Regions from separate parts of the Homo sapiens genome. Here regions 1, 2, 3, 5, 6 and 7 are each linked to region 4. The links are contacts of gene promoters, found by promoter capture Hi-C in human tissues and cell types (Jung and others, 2019). All regions are on one chromosome and are shown on one strand. The core of a region is centred on a gene start or on the middle of the fragment in contact, and the rest is flanking DNA. Distances in the headings are between cores, read along the strand shown. Region 1 overlaps DLG1-AS1 (DLG1 antisense RNA 1). Region 2 holds the start of UBXN7 (UBX domain protein 7). Region 3 overlaps RNF168 (ring finger protein 168). Region 4 holds the start of NCBP2 (nuclear cap binding protein subunit 2). Region 5 overlaps DLG1 (discs large MAGUK scaffold protein 1). Region 6 has its middle 26 kb from the start of UBXN7. Region 7 overlaps RNF168 (ring finger protein 168).

What was found. Contacts are between HindIII fragments. The study calls those that stand out against the background at their distance.
Region 1: a contact is called between a fragment that was not itself captured here and the fragment with the promoter of NCBP2 in region 4, in 1 of the 25 tissues and cell types used here (lymphoblastoid cells).
Region 2: a contact is called between the fragment with the promoter of UBXN7 here and the fragment with the promoter of NCBP2 in region 4, in 1 of the 25 tissues and cell types used here (dorsolateral prefrontal cortex).
Region 3: a fragment that was not itself captured here is called in contact with the fragment with the promoter of NCBP2 in region 4 in 2 of the 25 tissues and cell types used here (H1 embryonic stem cells and dorsolateral prefrontal cortex).
Region 5: a contact is called between a fragment that was not itself captured here and the fragment with the promoter of NCBP2 in region 4, in 4 of the 25 tissues and cell types used here (dorsolateral prefrontal cortex, lymphoblastoid cells, mesenchymal stem cells and 1 more).
Region 6: a fragment that was not itself captured here is called in contact with the fragment with the promoter of NCBP2 in region 4 in 1 of the 25 tissues and cell types used here (hippocampus).
Region 7: a contact is called between a fragment that was not itself captured here and the fragment with the promoter of NCBP2 in region 4, in 1 of the 25 tissues and cell types used here (dorsolateral prefrontal cortex).

Annotation. Positions count from the first base shown.
Region 1 is chr3:197,302,953-197,305,652 of GRCh38, forward strand. DLG1-AS1 (DLG1 antisense RNA 1) reads left to right here. Exons shown (of 3, transcript NR_038289.1): 3 at 1-799. Among named protein-coding and RNA genes, the nearest start is that of DLG1, 5.7 kb to the left of the region's middle. The HindIII fragment of the contact is 5,403 bases long and covers 1-2,700 here.
Region 2 is chr3:196,431,086-196,433,785 of GRCh38, forward strand. UBXN7 (UBX domain protein 7) reads right to left here and starts at 1,342. Exons shown (of 11, transcript NM_015562.2): 1 at 1,242-1,342. The coding sequence starts at 1,314. It overlaps UBXN7-AS1 (UBXN7 antisense RNA 1), which reads left to right and starts at 300. Exons shown (of 2, transcript NR_046745.1): 1 at 300-356; 2 at 1,117-1,949. RefSeq lists enhancers at 99-873, 450-499, 874-1,647, 1,580-1,659 and silencers at 1,210-1,269, 1,290-1,539. The HindIII fragment of the contact is 10,299 bases long and covers 1-2,700 here.
Region 3 is chr3:196,476,535-196,479,234 of GRCh38, forward strand. The region is part of intron 4 of RNF168 (ring finger protein 168); the gene reads right to left. Among named protein-coding and RNA genes, the nearest start is that of RNF168, 26 kb to the right of the region's middle. The HindIII fragment of the contact is 5,717 bases long and covers 1-2,700 here.
Region 4 is chr3:196,941,277-196,943,976 of GRCh38, forward strand. NCBP2 (nuclear cap binding protein subunit 2) reads right to left here and starts at 1,252. Exons shown (of 4, transcript NM_007362.5): 1 at 1,150-1,252. The coding sequence starts at 1,227. NCBP2AS2 (NCBP2 antisense 2 (head to head)) reads left to right here and starts at 1,398. Exons shown (of 1, transcript NM_001355243.2): 1 at 1,398-2,267. The coding sequence starts at 1,441. The coding sequence ends at 1,740. NCBP2-AS1 (NCBP2 antisense RNA 1) reads left to right here. Exons shown (of 3, transcript NR_046630.1): 3 at 1,117-1,258. RefSeq lists enhancers at 584-1,257, 716-955, 986-1,125, 1,176-1,475, 1,258-1,931 and 2 more. The HindIII fragment of the contact is 10,051 bases long and covers 1-2,700 here.
Region 5 is chr3:197,233,690-197,236,389 of GRCh38, forward strand. The region is part of intron 4 of DLG1 (discs large MAGUK scaffold protein 1); the gene reads right to left. Among named protein-coding and RNA genes, the nearest start is that of MIR4797, 59 kb to the right of the region's middle. The HindIII fragment of the contact is 3,494 bases long and covers 1-2,700 here.
Region 6 is chr3:196,457,303-196,460,002 of GRCh38, forward strand. No RefSeq gene overlaps it. Among named protein-coding and RNA genes, the nearest start is that of UBXN7, 26 kb to the left of the region's middle. The HindIII fragment of the contact is 8,617 bases long and covers 1-2,700 here.
Region 7 is chr3:196,496,959-196,499,658 of GRCh38, forward strand. The region is part of intron 1 of RNF168 (ring finger protein 168); the gene reads right to left. All of the region lies in intron 1 of LOC105374306 (a long non-coding RNA gene), which reads right to left. Among named protein-coding and RNA genes, the nearest start is that of RNF168, 5.5 kb to the right of the region's middle. The HindIII fragment of the contact is 8,083 bases long and covers 1-2,700 here.

The DNA.
Region 1 (2,700 bases), core at 58-2,557, 360 kb after region 4:
AATTCAACCAATGGACAAACACAGGAAGTTTTTCCTTAACATGAGTTGTCAGAAACTGTCCAAAATTCCAAAGAGCTGCCTCAAGGTAGTGGAAATTTTTTTTTTTTTTTAATCAGGAAGGTGCTGAATGAAGCCAGCAAGGATTCTGTGTCAGAGGGTGGTAGATACCCAGGACATAAGGTTGAACCACGTGACCTCTGAGACCACAGTTCTAAGCTGTTGAAACCTCAGTCCCTGCTGAATACTGAAATGGTATTAGCACCCTTTAGTCTACATCAAGAATTCGTTCTACCCAGTTTTGGTGGTACCAAGACTGATCTCTTTCTCATAGATAATTCTTAACAGAATAAAAGCTACAGGTTGAAACCAATTCCCTTTAAAATGTGGACAGTTGACCATCTCCATGATAGGTAGTTAGGCACTGAATTAATGCTTTTTAATGGAAGAGCCACCCTAAGATTCCTGGAGTGTGGTATAATGGAGTACTAAATCAGCATAGGACTAATAACTGCCTCCCGTGTAAACTGGTCTATCCGGAGAGTGGTATAGCCTCTCATACAGTGTTCAAAGGCAGATTTAACTCACTGCAGGTCCACAGCAACCGATAAGATAAACTCGTTGGTTATGGTCTCCCACTTTGCAAAGGAGAGCACAGAGGAAGAGGAAACTGAGATAACTTGGTTTAGGACCCCACAGCTGGCTGGAGCTGGGCTGAACATTAGTTCATTGTTTCTTCGATTAATCTATGCTGCTTTTTCTCTACTTGGCTCCTTTTCTAAATTAAACAAAACAAAACAAAAAACACTGGGCACAGAGTGGTGTATATGTGTGTGAGAGAGAGACAGAGATAGAGAAAGACTAAGCGAAAGAGAAAAGAGAGAGGCTGAGTGAGATTCAGATAAAATAAGGCACAAGTCATGGGCTAGTCTGTTGTACAGTGTACTTGTCATATATTTGAATGCCTTTAACAATGGAGACAGTTTTGATGGAAATAGGGCCTTGAAGAAATGCATATCCGCACCCTGGTGGTATGTTATAACTAAACGGGTTGGTTTTTTGTTTCGGAGTTTTTTGGGTTTCTTTTTAATGCAAAGGTATATATTTAAAATACCCTGTAGCTTCCTTCTCTCCTTCATTTCATTTCCTTAAGTATGAGAGAGGTTTTCTGGATGACGGGACATCCAAACTGGAAGTGCCCTCAGATCCCATCAACTCCCATCCCCATGTTTGAGAAGCACGTAAAGTAAGCTCCAGAAGAGCTCCCAGACAACGTCGGCACACAATTATCAGAGGACTTTTCCCTGATGGCAGAAAGCTACTGACATTTCCAGAACCATCCATCTTTCTTTTAGAGAGAAGGGGCTGGGGGTAAGGAGAAATTAGTAATCTTTTCTAGAGATACGTTTCTAAGTTTAACCAAATTTGCTTTTCTGCTTTTGAAGAACTTGTGGTATTGACAGAACCGTAGGATCCCATATGGAAATCCTCAGGATTATACTAAAATCTCCTTACATGAAACAACCTCTTCACCCCACCCCCTGCCAAGAGAATGACCATTGTCTGTTCACAGAAGGCTTTGGCCAGGGCCCTTCAGTCAGATTATCCTTATGTAGGTAGAGAAGATAAACTTGGAAACTTAATTGGAATTTGAAGAAATGCTATTAGAATTTTAGGAAGTCATTTGTATTCCATTTCTGAGATATGACCTGAATAGAATTCTGGTAAGTGGAGAAGCCAGAAGATTCTTCATAATTATATGTGGACTGTGTCCAGTGACCAATCTCATTTAGGATGGAAAACTGCCACAACCTTCCAAAACAAAGACCTGTGTGCCAGTCTTTCATTTTTGGGAAGTGACACTCACTAGGGCTGTCATTTTCCTATTCCTCATGTTGTATAACCCTAAATTCCTTTATTATTTTCTTCTATTTTACACTCACAAGAACGGTAACGATAATGAATCATTTAAATCTTGCTTTCTATTTAAATTTTCTTTAGATTAAATTAATTTCTTCCCAAGACAATTTTATCAACTGAGATTAAATATTTGTGATTAAAGCATCTTCTGCCTTTTATAAATAAATTGGGCGGCAGTTGAAGAAACTTTTCCAAATATGCTTTTTAAAAATCCTGCAAAATTTTCCCAAGTTGGATATCATTTCAACTTGCAAATTACCACATGAATAAACAAAGCCAAGCTCGAAGGGAGTAGGAGACAATGAGTCAAAAATTTAAAAGGGATGGGCCTTTACCAATTACTAATGAAGATGAACAAAGCAATTTAAGAATAAGAGAGAAGTAAATATTTAATAAGAAATGCTACCATAATAATTTGGAGAAGCTTGGGTTCAAAAGAGCAGAATAAAGCTGTATCTCTATTCTTTTTTTCTCTTGGAAAAAGACTCCAAAAATATTAGAACAAAGAGAAACTTGTTCCTCCATCCTTAATAAAAAGAAGAGTGGCTAGGCGCGGTGGCTCACACCTGTAATCCCAACACTTTGGGAGCCCAAGGCAGGTGGATTGCTTGAGGTCAGGAGTTTGAGACCAGCCTTACCAACATGGTGAAACCCATCTCTATTAAAACTACAAAAATTAGCCAGGCATGGTGGTGCCCGTCTGTAATCCCAGCTACTCAGGAGGCTGAGGCAGGAGAATCGCATGAACCCGGGAGGCGGAGGTTGCAGTCAGCTGAGATTGTG
Region 2 (2,700 bases), core at 92-2,591, 510 kb before region 4:
AACTAGTATACAACCTGTAGTAGTTAAAACAATATAAAATTTTACTTAACCAGATATTGCACGTTAAACTCTAGGAACATTAACAGTGGAAACATTCTCCGCATCTAACAAATTACGAGATAAAGTATAGATCCGTTGAGAGGGAACTAACATTCTGACCTCCTTCCAAAACGACAAACTAGAACGGCAAAATTACACTCAGGCACATTGGAGTACTCTTCTCTCAAATCACTCCACAGAGAACTTCATCATTTGCTCCGCCCTCTAATAACTCATGCAAGAAAAGTTCAGCACCATCAGAGAGAAACAAGACAGAGAGAATTCATAGAATGGCTTTAGGGCCTTTCCTCCAGGCGGTAAGAGGATCTGCGTGTGTCCTTCGCAGGGGTCCAAAGGGAGAGAACCTAGGCCTAGGGTTTCGGGGATACCGACACCCAGAAACAGATTTTCTCTCAAAGAAGTTTCTGCCGCCATCCCTATCTTATCAGCAGGAGGCCCCGGCGCCATCGTCTCCGTCTTTATGATTTTATTATGGGGAGGTGGGAAACGCCACCCTGGATTCTTCCAGGCCTCCCCTATTCAGCTTGGGGGTTCCCCCTCATTCTTCCCTCAAAGCCTCAGTCCCTGAGGTCCTCCTCAGCACCCCCCGCTTCTGGCGGCCTGTCCCCCGTGAAGTGTAAAGGCACGGCCGAACCCACCGGCCTTGCCGTGAAGGCGGGAGGGCCCGAACCCGCCAGGGCCACGGCGATGGCTCCGAGGGGCCCAGAAAGGGGAAGGGCAGGCCGGGGACCGGGGCAGAATGACCTGGCCGGGGAAGAAAGGAAAAAAGGAGGTGAGGAGATGCACCGCACCGCAGGGCTGCACAGAGAAGGGAAGATGATGAAGGAGGAGGAGGAGGGCGGTGGCCCGGGTGCGGCCCCCTACTCCTCCCGCCCCCGGGTCCCCGGGCCGGCGGGGGCGGACGGACTCGGCCCATTCCCAGGTCTGGGCTGGCGGGGGGTTGGGGGATCTCCCTCCACGCTACTAGGAGACAGAGAACGAGGGTATCGGGAGCGGGGGGGGGCTGTCTCCCGCCTGAACCCGGAGACCCCGACGCCGTCGTCGCCTCTTCCTCAGGAGGGAGGACGGCAGCTGTGGGTAAAGCCCGAAGGAGGAATGCCTGAAGGTAAGGGGAAGCCCGGGGCAGACCCGCTGCCCGCTCCGGACCCCACTCTCCACCTTCCGGTAACCGCGTCTCTTACCGGTAATGGTGGTGAACTGTTGAATTAACCCCTTCAGCGCCGAGGACGCCGCGGAGCCCCCGTGGGCAGCCATCTTACCGCCGCCGCCGCCGCCGAACAACAACACAGACACACACGGACTGCCCTCCCCCACTTCGCCGTGCGGTGTGCGCAGGCGCATTGACCGCCCCTCGAGCCCCGCCCCTCCCGTCCCCAGCGGTCTGCGCAGGCGCATTTTCCGACCGGGCCCGCGCGCTCCCAGCTCTCGGGTTGGCTGCTCGGTTGCTGCCTGCTCAGTGCATCCTTTTTGCCATTGCTGGTGCCTTCCTCTCCGGGCTCCAAGGCTAGCCTCGCAGGCGCGGTGTCGATTCCTAGATTCCGAAGGAAGCTTCGGTCTCGGCAGATAGTTCTTCGCATTTCAGCTTCGCAAGCTTTATTGACAGAGCCAACTGCCGATGACAGCATTTTTCTGTTTTGCGGTTGTACCGCACTCTATTAGGTTTCCTGCAGGTCCCATCAAAATGCAAACCCTACCTCCTCGCTTTGAAGCGACTCTCCCCGTACTCGCCCCCCAGCCTCTAAACTAATGGCTTAGCTAACCGATTGCGACGAGTGAAATACCAGAACCCTTCATGCCAAAGAAAGCACTTAGCGCGGGGTTGCCACCCAGTAGGTTTTCATAAACGATTGTTTAGTCTGCTTTCCTTAAATAAATTGGCCATCACGTCTCCCGTTAGGGTCTTAATGAGACCCCAAGAGGCGTCATTTGTATAAAAAGAAACTCTGTATATGCAGTAGAGGAAAGAAAACATATAGAAAGGAGACTGGAAAAGTGTGCTCAAAACGCTGGTAACGGTTACCTCCAGAGAAGAGAACGATCGGGACGATGGTCAAAGCGGACCTTACTTCGAGTTTCTTATTTATCTTTTTATTTTTAAACAAACATTATTGGCCGGGCGCGGTGGCTCATGACTGTAATCCCAGCACTTTGGAAGGCCGAGGTGGGAGAATCGCTTGAGGCAAGGAGTTCGAGACCAGACTGGGAAATATATCAAGAATCCATCTCAAAAAAAAAAAAAAAAAAAAGATATTCGTGTGTTCCTTGAATAATTTTAAGTATTTTGCAAAACAGTTACATGAGTGGGGTGCGCTCAAATCCAATAATCCCCCACCTTGCCCATAAAGTTAAAAGAGATTCCAAGTGATTCCGTTTGTTTTAGCCTCCCACCTTCCAACCTCCACCCACATATTTTGCATCTTCATAGGAAAATGGCCCAATAAAAGATGGGATGAGCTGTCTGAAGAATTGACACATCCTAAGAGTAAACATGCTATTGGGGAGAATTAAGAAAGAGCCATGTCAAATCAAGGGGTATAGTTTTTTGTTTTGTTTTGTTTGACAGGGAGTCTCGCTCTGTCGCCCAGGCTGGAGTGCAGTGGTGCAATCTCAGTTTACTGAAAGCTCCGCCTCCCGGGTTCA
Region 3 (2,700 bases), core at 103-2,602, 460 kb before region 4:
CCTCCTGAGTAGTTGGGATTACAGGCATGTGCCACCACGTCCAGCTAATTTTTGTATTTTTAGTAGAGACGGGGTTTCACCATGTTGGCCAGGCTGGTCTCGAAGTCCTGACCTCAGGTGATCCGCCTGCTTCGGCCTCCCAAAGTGCTGGGATAACATGCGTGAGCCACCGTGCCTGGCCCTCAACTCTCTTCTTAGAAACACATATCTTTACATTTCTTTCTTTTTTTTTGAGACAGAGTCTCACTCTGTCGCCAGGCTGGAGTGCCGTGACATGATCTTGGCTCACTGCAACCTCCGCCTCCCGGGTTCAAGTGATTCTCCTGCCTCAGCCTCCTGAGTAGCTGGGACTACAGGCACACGCCACCATGCCCTGCTAATTTTTGTATTTTTAATAGAGACAGGGTTTCACCACGTTGGCCTGGATGGTCTCAATCTCTTGACCTCAGGTGATCCGCCTGCCTCGGCCTCCCTAAGTGTTGGGATTACAGGCGTGAGCCACTGCACCTGGTCATATCTTTACATTTCTAAGAATCTTCAATATAACAGGCTGTTTGCCACTGAAAACACTACGGTTTTAATAGAATGGAAAATGTTATAAAAGAACGGGGAATAGAAAAGGCAGGCTACAAGATGGTAGGTATAGTTTAAAAATTGTAAAATATCCAAACATGCATATAACTATGTTTACAAATGGCAGAAATTTCCCAAAATGTTGGTTGTCTCCAAATGGTGGAAACTTTGGGTGATTTTCAAAGAGCAGCTAGCCATGGCTTTTAGAATTAGAGAAAAAAAGTGACTATAAATAACAGACAAATCCATAAGTTACACTGTGTCAAAAGCACCAACAAGTAGCATATGGAACAATCAAACCTAAACAAAGATCTCATATAAAGAACTAATGAATATTCCTTATGGGCAAACAAGAGTACCTAACCCATATATTTAGTTATATCAATCTATATATTTACTCTGTTAACTTTGAAGAACAAGAACCAAATTTTCAGTTGAAAAGAAGCTTAGTCTCATTTAGTTTCTTTAGGCTGAAGAATTCTTTCTGTCAATGCTGATGCGGGACCACTACTTACGAAGCATACCAGTACCAAAGTATCACTGTTATAACAGTTGTTTTGACGTTCATAAGCAGAGAACAGAATGTTATTACTTATCCAACACAATCACTGAAGATTCATTAACTCTCTTGGATATTCCTTATTTATAATAACCAAGTAATATATGAATACATGCTCATTCTGAAAATAAGCAGAACTGGCCGTGGTGGTTCATGCCTGTAATTCTAACACTTTGGGAGGCTGAGGTGGGAGGATCGTTTGAGGCCAGGAGTCCGAAAACTGGACAACACAGCAAGACCCATCTCTACAAAAAATTAAAAAGAAAAATTAGCTGGACATAATGGTGTGTGCCTATAGTCCCAGCTACTCTGAAGGCTGAGGTGGGAGGATCGCTTGAGCCCAAGAGTTTGAGGCTGCAGTGAGCTATTTTCTTGCCACTGTGGCCTGGGTAACAGTGAGACCCTGTCTCTTAAACAAAACAGAAATACAGGAAATATATGTCATCAACCCTTTCCCTTCCCATGTTTTAAGAACTTTTTTTTTTCTTTTTTCCTTGAGTCTGAATTTTTGGGATCCATTCCCATTTGCTTCCTTTTATGTTTTAAATTAAGTTTAGCCTAAAGCTGCCTCCTTACGTATTTTAAGTTCAGCCCAAAGATTTCTCTGTATATAGTGAACTACAGCCTAAAGGGAGGTGTGAACAGCCTGTAAACTACTCTTGTGCCAGTCACCAAGCTTTGGCCAAAGGGGGCCAACTGTTCAAATCATGTTCAAATAAGGCAAATGCCAAACTGTAACCACTCTGGCTGTCTCTGCCCCTCATTTCTGCTTTCCATACATCACGTTCCCTTTTCTGTCTGTTAATCTTCTTCCGACATGTGGCTCCACGGGAGTCGCTCTCGGCCTACTCTGGCTCGAGAGGCTGCCCAATTTGTGAATTGTCCTTTGCTCAATTAAACTCTGTTAATTTGTCTAAGGTTCTCCTTTTAACATATGTAACCAATTTTTTAAAAATATGATTTCTATGAAATACACACTCTTTTTGATTTTGTTTATTTTAGTTATTTTATTTTTTGGGGGACAGAGTCTCACTCTATCGCCCAGACTGAAGTACAATGGCACAATCTCTGCTCACTGCAACCTCTGCCTCCCGGGTTTAAGCAACTCTCCTGCCTCAGCCTCCCAAGTAGCTGGGATTACAGGCATGCACCACCATGCCCAGCGAATTTTTGTATTTTTGGTAGAGACAGGCTGATCTCGAATGCCTGACCTCAGAAGTATTGTATTTTTGGTAGAGACAGGACAGCCAGGCTGGTCTTGAACTCCTGACCTCAGGTGATCCACCCACCTCGGCTTCCCAAAGTGTTAGGATTACAGGTGTGAGCCACCGCACCTGGCCATTATTTTATTTATTTTTTTTTGAGACGGCGTCTCACTCTATTGCCCAGGTTGGAGTGCAGTGGTGCAGTCTCAGCTCACTGCAACCTCCACCTCCTGAGTTTTAAGCAATTCTCTCTGCCTCAGCCTCCCGAGTAGCTGGGATTACAGGTGCTCGCCACCACACCCGGCTAATTTTTGTATTTTTAGTAGAGATGGGGTTTCGCCATGTTGGCCAGGCTGGTCTTGA
Region 4 (2,700 bases), core at 2-2,501:
AGACGGGGTTTCACCATCTTGGCCAGGCTAGTCTTGAACTCCTAACCTCGTGATCCACCCGCCTCAGCCTCCCAAAGTGCTGGGATTACAGGCGTGAGCCACCGTTCCCAGCCTTGACTAAATAAATCTAAGAGCTTCCCTAATTTAGCGTCAAACAAAATTTCCCTTTCCCTACTCTAGTAACACATTTCACACATTCTCCACACTTACCCTCTGCTATATGCGCCCCTTCCTTTCCCAGTCACAAGGGGATTTTTCCCTTTTCTGAATCCTCACTACAGGGGATTATGAGCTCGCAGAGCGCAGAAACTGTCTTCCCTCTCCCTCTAGGGTTTAGCACAAGGATTTGGCGACAGCACTCGATAAACGTTTACTAAATAATTGGGTTAATGAGTCCCGCCCCGCCAACCCCCAACCGTATTCCATCCCTACCTCCGCTGATACTGAAAAGTCTACTTTGAATATCTGCTGCCTCCCCTTTTTCCACAAAATATACTGTGATATAGTCCGGACTAAAAATTTCCCTCTTCTGAAATCCAGCAATTCTCCGATCTTTACATCCGAACACCCTCAAAGTGCCGAGCTTGGCGGGTCCACCTCCCCACTCCGAAGCTTCCCCGAGGGCGGAGTGAGGACTCCACTTGTGTCTCCCACGCACCGCGTACAGCTTCCGTAACACCATCCTCCCAGAGAAGGGGCCCGAATCGCCGAAGGGCACTGCTTCGCCGATTTAAAAAACAAAGCAAAAAGCCCCGCATCTGCATCAGGAAGGCGCCTCTGCCTACTCTGGGAGAGAGAAGGGCACCCCTCCCCCTTGCTACGTAGTCGTCTGCGGAGGCACAACCGTGGAAACGGGAGCCGCCACCACCACCACCGCTCAAACCTCTCGGCACTGGCTGGGGTACAGGGAGCGGCTGCGAGCGAATGGGATAAGCGAGCCTCCAGTTCCCCGTCTTCCAGAGCAAGTGGCTTCAGTGATATCCAAGCGCCCTTCCAGCACCCATTCCCTGCCTCGCCAGCAGGCACCGGGGCCCCACTTGGCGTTTGCGGATTTCAGCTGAATGGGAGGCGACACAATGAGACAAGAGCAAACCGTTTCTCAGCGTTCTTGCCCAGGGCCTTCCCGTCTCGCGGCCCGGCCTCCCTCACCCGGAAGTGCTGGTCCCGGTACTGGCTCAGCTCCACGTAGGAGTCGCTGCGCAGCGCCTTCAGGAGGCCACCCGACATAGTGCAGAGAAGCGGACCACAATGCGGCGACTCCCGGCACGAGGCTGCGTCCGCGATGGCGGAAGCGGAAACGCGCGGAGGCGAGCATCTCATTGGACCCAATCCGAGGGCGGCGTGTCGTCATCAAGCTGCGCGGGGGCATAGACGTCCGGGTCGGGCGCCGCGGGGCGGAAGACGAGGGCGGCGAGGTCGGGTTCCGGGCGCTTGGAGAAGATGGTGCTGCGGCGGCTGCTGGCCGCCCTGCTGCACAGCCCGCAGCTGGTGGAACGTCTGTCAGAGTCGCGGCCTATCCGACGTGCGGCGCAGCTCACGGCCTTCGCACTGCTGCAGGCCCAGCTGCGGGGCCAGGACGCGGCCCGCCGCCTGCAGGACCTCGCGGCTGGGCCCGTGGGCTCCCTGTGCCGCCGCGCTGAGCGATTTAGAGACGCCTTCACCCAGGAGCTACGCCGCGGCCTCCGAGGCCGCTCGGGGCCACCACCAGGTAGCCAGAGGGGCCCTGGCGCAAACATTTAATCCTGGGCTGTGCGGGGCCGAGGCCGCTTGCTTTTCCTTCCGGGCTCTACAGTGGCATCAATGTGGAGGGGTCATTCCGGGCACTGCGCGCGGCTTCGAATCCCGACTGGGATTGTTGGCCTGCAGACATCCCACGCATAAGAGCCTAGGCCAGACCGCCCGCTCCGTTGAAGTCTTGTGATTGGACAAGACACAGTGTGGAGACAGCCCTAAGCCTAACAGAGATGAAGGTAGGCTGGGTCCAGACACGGCACCTACGGAGAGCCACGGACCGAAGCCAGAGAGCCTTTCCTCTGCAAGTGGGACTGAAACTCTTGACAGATGCTGCTCAATCTGACTGGTATAGCAGGACAGTTAATTCCAGGGACGATATGGATGAAAAGACAACCCTACAGCTGCCAAATTCCTTTGATTAAATGTGTGAGCTGGTTGATAGGCATGAGTGTGATACTTCTCAGGCAAGATGTGTTAAGAATACCGGGGACTGTAGGCCTATGGTAATAATAAACACGTATTTTATGAAATGAGTCTTCTGTGCTGGGACTTGCTCATTGCACTCTATGTGTTATCTCACTCCTTACAACGACATTCACATGAGGAAGCAGATTACTTTTTGGATTTTTTTGTAGAGATGGGGTGGTCTCGAACTCTTGGGCGCAAGTGATCCTCCCGCCTCAGCCTCCCAAAGTGCTGGGATTATAGGCAAGAGCCACTGCGATGGAAACAGAGGCTGCTGCTTAAGTTGCCCAAAGTCTTGCAGAGTGGGATGTGAGCAGAGGCATTTGACTCCAGGGCCTAAGTCCTTAACACAGCTCTGCAGCATTTACCCTGATACTCAACCCCTTCCTTCCCCAACCCCCCACCATCAGGCATTAAGACTACTGCCTAGGGGCAGGGCCTGGTGGCAGTTGTGTCTTATCCCAGCCACTGCAGAGGCAGGAGGATCGCATGAGCCTGAGA
Region 5 (2,700 bases), core at 115-2,614, 290 kb after region 4:
TTGTATTTTTAGTAGAGACGGGGTTTCACCATATTGGCCAGGCTGGTCTTGAACTCCTGACCTCAAGTGATCTGCCCACCTCAGCTTCCCAAAGTGCTGGGATTACAGGCGTAAGCCACCGTGCCCAGCCTTAAAGGTTTTATGTAAGCTTCTACAAGCCATGACTCCTATCTCATACAGTTTGCTTCAGGCTTCTCCATGTTCAAGGAAACTAAAGAAATCCATCCATTATACACTGGAAGCGGAGCTCTGATAAACAATATCCATGGTAAACACATTTGCTTCTAGCATAAAACTTCTTTGAAACAGCATCTTAGGTGGAAGTCCCCAAAAAACGAAATAGATGAACACAAAGAGGCTGTGGCTGAGCGCCAATGAGTCTCATCTTATGTCCTACTAAGCCAATCAACACACAGTCTTTAAGGAAACCTAGAATACCAGAGATAAGGTTTTGAACAGTGGTTCCCAAATGGTGAGATATCCAAAGAAGATTCCCAGGTATTTAGTCTAATTTAAGCCTAACGATCTTTATTTTTAACGAGCTCCCTGTCCAGTTCTAATACACAGACAGGCTTACAACCCCAGATGATCCAATTAAGAAAAGCAAAGCACAGTTCTCAAACCAAATTGAGTGTAAAATTTCAATGCAGAATGCTTTTCTCAGGGAGGAGGAAATGGATAAAACAAGGACAAAACATTTCCAAAAAGTATAATGGATGAATTTAGGAGTAGAGTTTTAACTGACTGGAGATCTTACTTTTGAAAAGAATAAAAATGTCTAATCAATCCCACATTCTCTAAATAAATGATGATATATTCCTGTTGTGAAATCTTAAACTGCCATTATAATATGGACAGACAAGCATAGTTTTAAAGAACATGTAATAACATGAAAAACTAACCTTGGACTAAAATTTTGCCTTTTAGCAAAACAAACAAACAAAAACACAATACAAACTGGGGGAACAAAGAAAGAGGGCTGTATGTCTGTTTATGCCCCGTAATTATGTATAAAAGGGGTTATATATATAATCACAGAAAAATGACTAGAACACAGAAAAATGTTAATAGAGGTAAGATATGGAGTCTGAGTTTACATGAGACTTAGGTTCATTTTTGTGTATTTCTAAACTCTACAATGAACATACATTGTATCTCCCTCATCCCAAAAAGTCACGTCAAAAGTTATGTTTTTTAAGGAAACTACTGAAGTAGTAGTTTCTATTCCAGAGTAACCAGCTTAAATCTATTGTGAAATTAAACAGGATCTAAATAAACAAAATATGAAAAAACTTCTACGTCAGGCCATGAAGAAGTTAACTGGTACAGAACTTGACCTTCTGCCTTAAAACAACTAGAAAACTAGAAAAAAAATACATGCCACAACAGTTTTCAGCACTGGACAACAAGCAGTACAGGACTACAATACCTGAGAGAAGGAAAACAAAGTGAGCTCTACGATCTTCCTGGCTTCCTGCCTGGAGGCCATTTTTTGGAACTTGACACATGATGGAGAAACCCAAGCCAATACAGCCATCTTACTGGGTTGACAAAAATCAAGACTGGTGTTCAAGGAGACGGAAGCACTGGAATGTGCAAGGCAGAATACTGGAAAGAAGAAGGCTAAGCAGAAAAAGAGCTCCAGAAATCAAATAGTGAGTACCCTTGAGACTTCAGTCTGAATACTAATCAACACGTGAACAGCATAAAATTCAACAAGGCCAGGCAAATAAAACTGTAAGGGACTTATAAACAAGCTTCAGAGCTCACAGTAAGCTGAGGAGTGTTCAAACTTATACAGAGCAGAGGGGCCTCAATAAACACTTGTAGTAATCAGTGGACACTCCTAGACAGTCAAGCCTTAGCATTAAGGCTAAGCTGGCCTTAAAGAAAAGGCTACTTGAGATCCAACTTTTAAAAAGCTTTAAAAAGTCTTGAACTGATCAACCTTATCTGCAAATGACTTAATTGCCTTCCAAAACAAACAACAGTATTTTCCAGAGAAAACAGTACTTAGGAACACTCAATTACATTCACAATGTCTGGGATCCAATGAAAAATAACCAGATATGCAAAGAAGCAGAAAACTGTGAGCCATCAGAGGAGGAAAGCCAGTTCATAATAGACTTAGAAATGCAAAATGACAGAATTAGCAGATAAAAACTCAAAAACACTCATAAAACTTAAGTATGCTCAAGGACTTAAAGGAAAACATGAATATCATGACAGAAATGGAACCAATAAAAACATACCAAATGGAATGAGGTTTTAAACGTGCTGGGAAAAAAAACCTGTCAACCCAGAATTTTTTTCATCAAAACTATCATTCAAAAATAAAGGCAGGCTAGTCATGGTGGCTCATGCCTGTAATCCCAGTACTCTGGGAGCCCAAGGTAGGCAGACTGCTTGAGACCAGGAGTTCAAGAGTGGCATGAGCAACATGGCGAAATCCCGTCTCTACAAAAAGTAAAAAATCAGCTGGGTGTGGTGGGGCATGCCTGTAGTTCCAGCTACTTGGGAGGCTGAAGCAGGAGGATCACTTAAGCCTGGGAGGAAAAGGTTCCAGTGAGCTGAGATGGCACCACTGCACTCCATCCTGGGCAACAGAGTGAGATCCTGTCTCAAAAATTAAAAAAAAGACAAAATAAAAATACTTCTTTCAAGTAAACAACAGCTGAGAGAATTCATCACCAGAAGAAA
Region 6 (2,700 bases), core at 74-2,573, 480 kb before region 4:
GAAAATAACTCAAATAATTACAAATGGCTCAGAACACTGGGGGACAAAAACCTAACCTCAACCCCATTCATAATAAATGTTTTCTCTTTTTTTTTTTTTTTTTTTTTTGAAACAGAGGTTTTGGTCTGTTGCCCAGGCTGGAATGCAGTGGTACAATCTCAGCTCACTGCAACCTCTGCCTCCCGGGTTCAAGCGATTCTCCTGCCTCAGCCTCCCGAATAGCTAGGATTACAGGTGTGCACCACCATACCCAGCTAATGTATTTTTAGTAGAGACAGGGTTTCTCCATGTTGGCCAGGCTGGCCTCGAACTCCTGACCTCAGGTGATCTGCCTGCCTCAGCCTCCCAAAGTGCTGCAATTACAGCCGTGAGCCACCGGGCCTGGCCACGAATGATTTTTTAAAGCCAAAGAAAAGAGCAGTGGTTAGTTCAGAACCTTTTTGGTTGCCTTAGAAACTTAGGGTTTTTGCTATTACATAACATTAAAATTGCCACTTCCTCCTCTAAAGACCTAAGTCTGAGATAATTAGCCCTCATCTTTTTTTCAGACTGTGACCTATTCTTCTCAGCCCCAAAGGAAAATTTGTTTTTAAGATCATGCTTTAAAAAGTACTACTGGTTTGCGCCCAATGCTTGGCAAGTAAAAAACAAATAAAAAGTACTATTAGTTTAAAAAGTTAAAGTCTTCTAAAATCAAACTAGCTAAATTCATGTATTTTTAGCTTTATCCAAATAAAAGATTTAAAATGTTTTCTAAGCATTTGCCAGTAGAAGGAATCAATTCATTTTTTTTTTGTTTATAAGATGCTTTTCCAGAAGTTATTCTTGAGATTCTGAGATTTTTAAGCACCGTTTTCAAGTCAATAAACTGATAATAGTGTTGTACAAATTACAGCACCTCGAGCTCTTTGTGGGTGGAAAGGTTCTCTCACATGTTAAAACCAAGTTGATTTAATATCATGTCAGTGCCTCTTGCTAGGATTGTTACACAACTCCCCTCTCTTGATTTGTTGTAATGTAGGTTTACTCTGGAGAGTTACTTCATTATGATCTATTTTTAATTAATTCCAATGCCCTCCTTTTTTTTTTTTTTTTTTTTTTTGAGATGGAGTCTTGCTGTGTCGCCCAGACTGGAGTGCAATGGTGTGATCTCGGTTCACTGCAACCTCCACCTCCCAGGTTCAGGCGATTCTCCTGCCTCAGCCTCCCAAGTAGCTGGGACTACAGGCACCTGCCATCATGCCTGGCTAATTTTTGTATTTTTAGTAGAGACGGGGTTTCACCATGTTGGCCAGGATGGTCTCGATCTCTTGACCTCATGATCTGCCCACCTCGGCCTCCCAAAGTGCTGGGATTACAGGCGTGAGACACTGTGCCTGGCAAATGCCCTCCTTTTAATAGACAGATCAGGCTGGGCACAGTGGCTCACGCCTGTAATCCCAGCAGTTTGGGAAGCTGAGGTGGGTGGATCACCTGAGGTAAGGAGTTCAAGACCAGCCTGGCCAATATGATGAAATCCCATGTTTACTAAAAATACAAAAATTAGCCAGGCGTGGTGGCACGCGCCTGTAATCCCAGCTACTCTGGAGGCTGAGGCAGGAGAATCGCTTGAACCTAGGAGGCAGAGGTTACAGTGAGCCGAGATTGTACCGCTGCACTCCAGCCTGGGAAAAAAAAAAAGATCAAATCTTATCCTGGTGTTCTATTATTTCTGGATTGTATCCTTCTAGGAGCTCTGGGAATTTAGTGATGATGTCTGATGGCTTAATTTCCTATGGAGGAAATTTCAAAGAGGGTTCACCTGGTAGGTGAGGAATTGTGGGATTTGTAGGGCTTGTAGGGGCATAGGAAAATGGGACAATGGTAGCTTTAGGTGACCACCCGTTTGTGTATGGGGATGGCAGACACAATCTTATTCTCTGAATCATCAGCTCTGGACATAATCAGAACAACAACAACAACAAAAACTAAAGAATTGGAAGTGCTTTCTGCAGGTACTTAAAGGTTCTCTAGGTGGCCGGGCACGGTGGCTCATGCTGGTAATCCCAGCACTTTGGGAGGCCGAGGCGGGTGGATCACTTGAGGTCAGGAGTTCGAGACCAGCCTGGCCAACATGGTGGAACCCCGTCTCTACTAAAAATACAAAAATTAGCTGGGCATGGTGGTGAGCGCCTGTAGTTCCAGCTACTCAGGAGGCTGAGGCAGGAGAGTCACTTGAACCTGGGAGGCAGAGGTTGCAGTGAGCCGAGATCATGCCACTGCACTCCAGCCTGGGTGACAAAGCAAGACTCCATCTCAAAAACATAAAATAAATGAAAATAAAGGTTCTCCAGTTTTCTCCTATAGATCCTTCATGAGGCTTAACTTCTCCTGGGAATTTGTGGATAAGCATCATTTTTCCACACATACTAACACCCATCTTGTCTAGATAGGAGCGTTATAGGTTTTTGCCTTAGACGTTTCAAGACACCTTAGTCCAGAATCTATTAAAGGAAAACATCTCTGGTGTGTTTTCTTTCCCCCTCTTGTCTTGCAGCGTCAAGCCTGCCATTCTAAACTCTGCTGATATAAAAACCATTTGCCCAGACTCCTTTGCCAGTTGGCTTCTTGTAAAGTTCTATCAATAAGCGGTTCTAGGAAGGAGGAAAGGAAAAGGGGGCTACTTTTTTTTTTTTTTTTTTTTTGAGACGGAGTCCTGTT
Region 7 (2,700 bases), core at 175-2,674, 440 kb before region 4:
ATGTGGTGAAACTCCCGTCTCTATTAAAAATACAAAAATTAGCCAGGCATGGTGGTACATGCCTGTAATCGCAGCTACTCAGGAGGCTGAGGAAGGAGAACTGCTTGAACCTGGGAGGCAGAGGATGTAGTGAGCTGAGATCACGCCACTGCACTCCAGCCTAGGCAACAGAGCAAGACTCTGTCTCAAAAAGAAAAAAAAAGATTTACTCTAAAGTCACAGTAATCAAGACAGTGTGACACTAATATTAGAATCAACGGATCAATGAAATAGAATAGACCCACATTATTTTTTTTAAAAAGTCTTTTCAACAAAAGGTACAGAAATAACTGATACCCATATGGGAAAAAGTTAACCTCAACCCCCTAACTTATACAATATTCAAAATTAATTTGAAATGGATCAAAGACCTAAACATAAAAGTTAAAACTGGCCAGACACAGTGGCTCACACCTGTAATCCTCGCACTTTGGGAGGCCAAGGCAGGCGGATCACGAGGTCAGGACTTCAAGACCAGCCTGGCCAACATGGTGAAGCCCCATCTCTACAAAAAATACAAAAATTAGCCAGGCATGGTGGTGCGTGCCTGTAGTCCCAGCTACTCAGGAGGCTGAGGGAGGAGAATCGCTTGAACCTGGGAGGTGGAGGTTGCAGTGAGCCATCACGCCACTGCACTCCAGCCTGGGCGACACAACGAAATTCAGTCTCCAAAAAAAAAAGGTAAAACTATAAATCTTTTAGAAAAAAAAATAGCAATATCTTAGCCTGAAGGTAGCTAAAGGTTTCTTAGACCATAAAAAGCAATAAACTATAAAAGGAAAAATTTATGAGACTTCATGAAAATTAAGAATTTCAGCTCGTCAAAACAATTAAGAATATCTGGCAAAGTACCAGTATTCAAAATACATAAATAATGTCTACAACTGAATATAAACAATTTAGGGGAAAAAGAATTAAACAGACACTTTACAATGGAAGAGGGCAAAACTGTCAATAAGCACATGAAAAAGAACACTATCATTAGTTACCTGGAAATTGAAATTAAAACAAGATACTACTATCAATACAAATCAACTGGAATGGTTAAATCTAAAAAGACAGATAACATCAAAAGTTGGTAAGATGTACGGCAACCAGAACCTGTATGCTGTTGGTGGGATTACAAAATGACACAACCACTTTCGAAAAAGATCTGGTAGTTTCTTCTTTCTTTTTTTGAGATGGAGTCTCACTCTGTCACCGAGGCTAGAGTGCAGTGGCGCGATCTAGGCTCACTGCAACCTCTGCCTCCTGGGTTCAAGCAATTCTCTGCCTCAGCCTCCCGAGTGGCTGGTATTACAGGTGCCCGCCACCACACCCGGCTAATTTTTGTATTTTTAGTAGATGGGGTTTCAGCATCTTGGCCAGGCTGGTCTTGAACTCCTGACCTTGTGATCCACCCGCCTCGGCCTCCCAAAGTGCGTGAGCCACCATGCCTGGCAGGTAGTTTCTTATAAAAATATGTACCTATTCTACGTTGCGTAATTCCAGCTCCTAAGTATTTAACCAAAAAAACCCTGAAAACATAAGGCCACACATACACACACAGAGACACAAAAACTTGCACAAGAACCTTCTCAGCAACTTTATTCATAATATCCAAAACTGCAAGCAACTGAAGCACTGTATCAGTGGAGAATGGCCAATCATATACAGCATAGTCAATGGTGGAATAATACTTAAAAAACGAATATCTACACAAGAATAAATCTTGAGGCCAGGCGCGGTGGCTCATGCCTGTAATCCCAGCACTTTGGGAGGCCGAGGCGGGTGGATCACCTGAGGTCAGGAGTTCGACACCAGGCTGGGCAACATGGTGAAACCCCATCTCTACTAAAAATACAAAAATTAGCCAGGCATGGTGGTGCGTGCCTGTAATCCCAGCTACTTAGGAGGCTGAGGCAGGAGAATCACTTGAACCCAGGAGACGGAGGTTGCAGTGAGCCGAGATCCTGTCACTGCATTCCAGACTGGGTGACAGAACAAGACTGTCTCAAAAAAAAAAAAAGAATAAATCTTGAACCTTATGCTGAATAACCCCCCAAAAGATATGCTTAAGTCCTAACTCCCAGTAACTAAGAATGTGGTCTTAACTGGAAACAGGTTGTTACAGATATAATGGAGTTCATACAAAGAGTACAGAGCCTTTAATCCAATATAACTAGTGTCCTGGTAAAAAAAAAAGAGAGAGACACAGAGGAGACGGCCATGTAAAGACAGACACACCGGGAAACTCTACGTGCCAATGGAGGCAGAGACTGGAGTGACTCAGCTGCAAACCAGGAACACCATGGATTCCAGCCACACCAGAAGCTAAGGAGAAGGGCACGGAACAGATTCTCTCCCAGAGCCTTCAATGTACATGTCCCTGCTCCCTGCTAGCATCTTGGGTTTGGAGTTCTACTCTTCAGAACTGAGGGAGAATAAATTTCTGCTAAGTTCGTGGTACTTTGTTACAGTAGCCCTAGGAAATAAAAAGAATTCCATTTATATGAAGTTCCAGAACAGAAAAAACTCATCTATGGTGGATAAAAACTAAAACAGCCCGGACGCGGTGGCTCACGCTTGTAATCCCAGCACTTTTGGAGGCCAAGACAGGTGGATCACGAGGTCAAGAGATTGAGACCATCCTGACCAACACAGCAAAACCCCATCTCTACT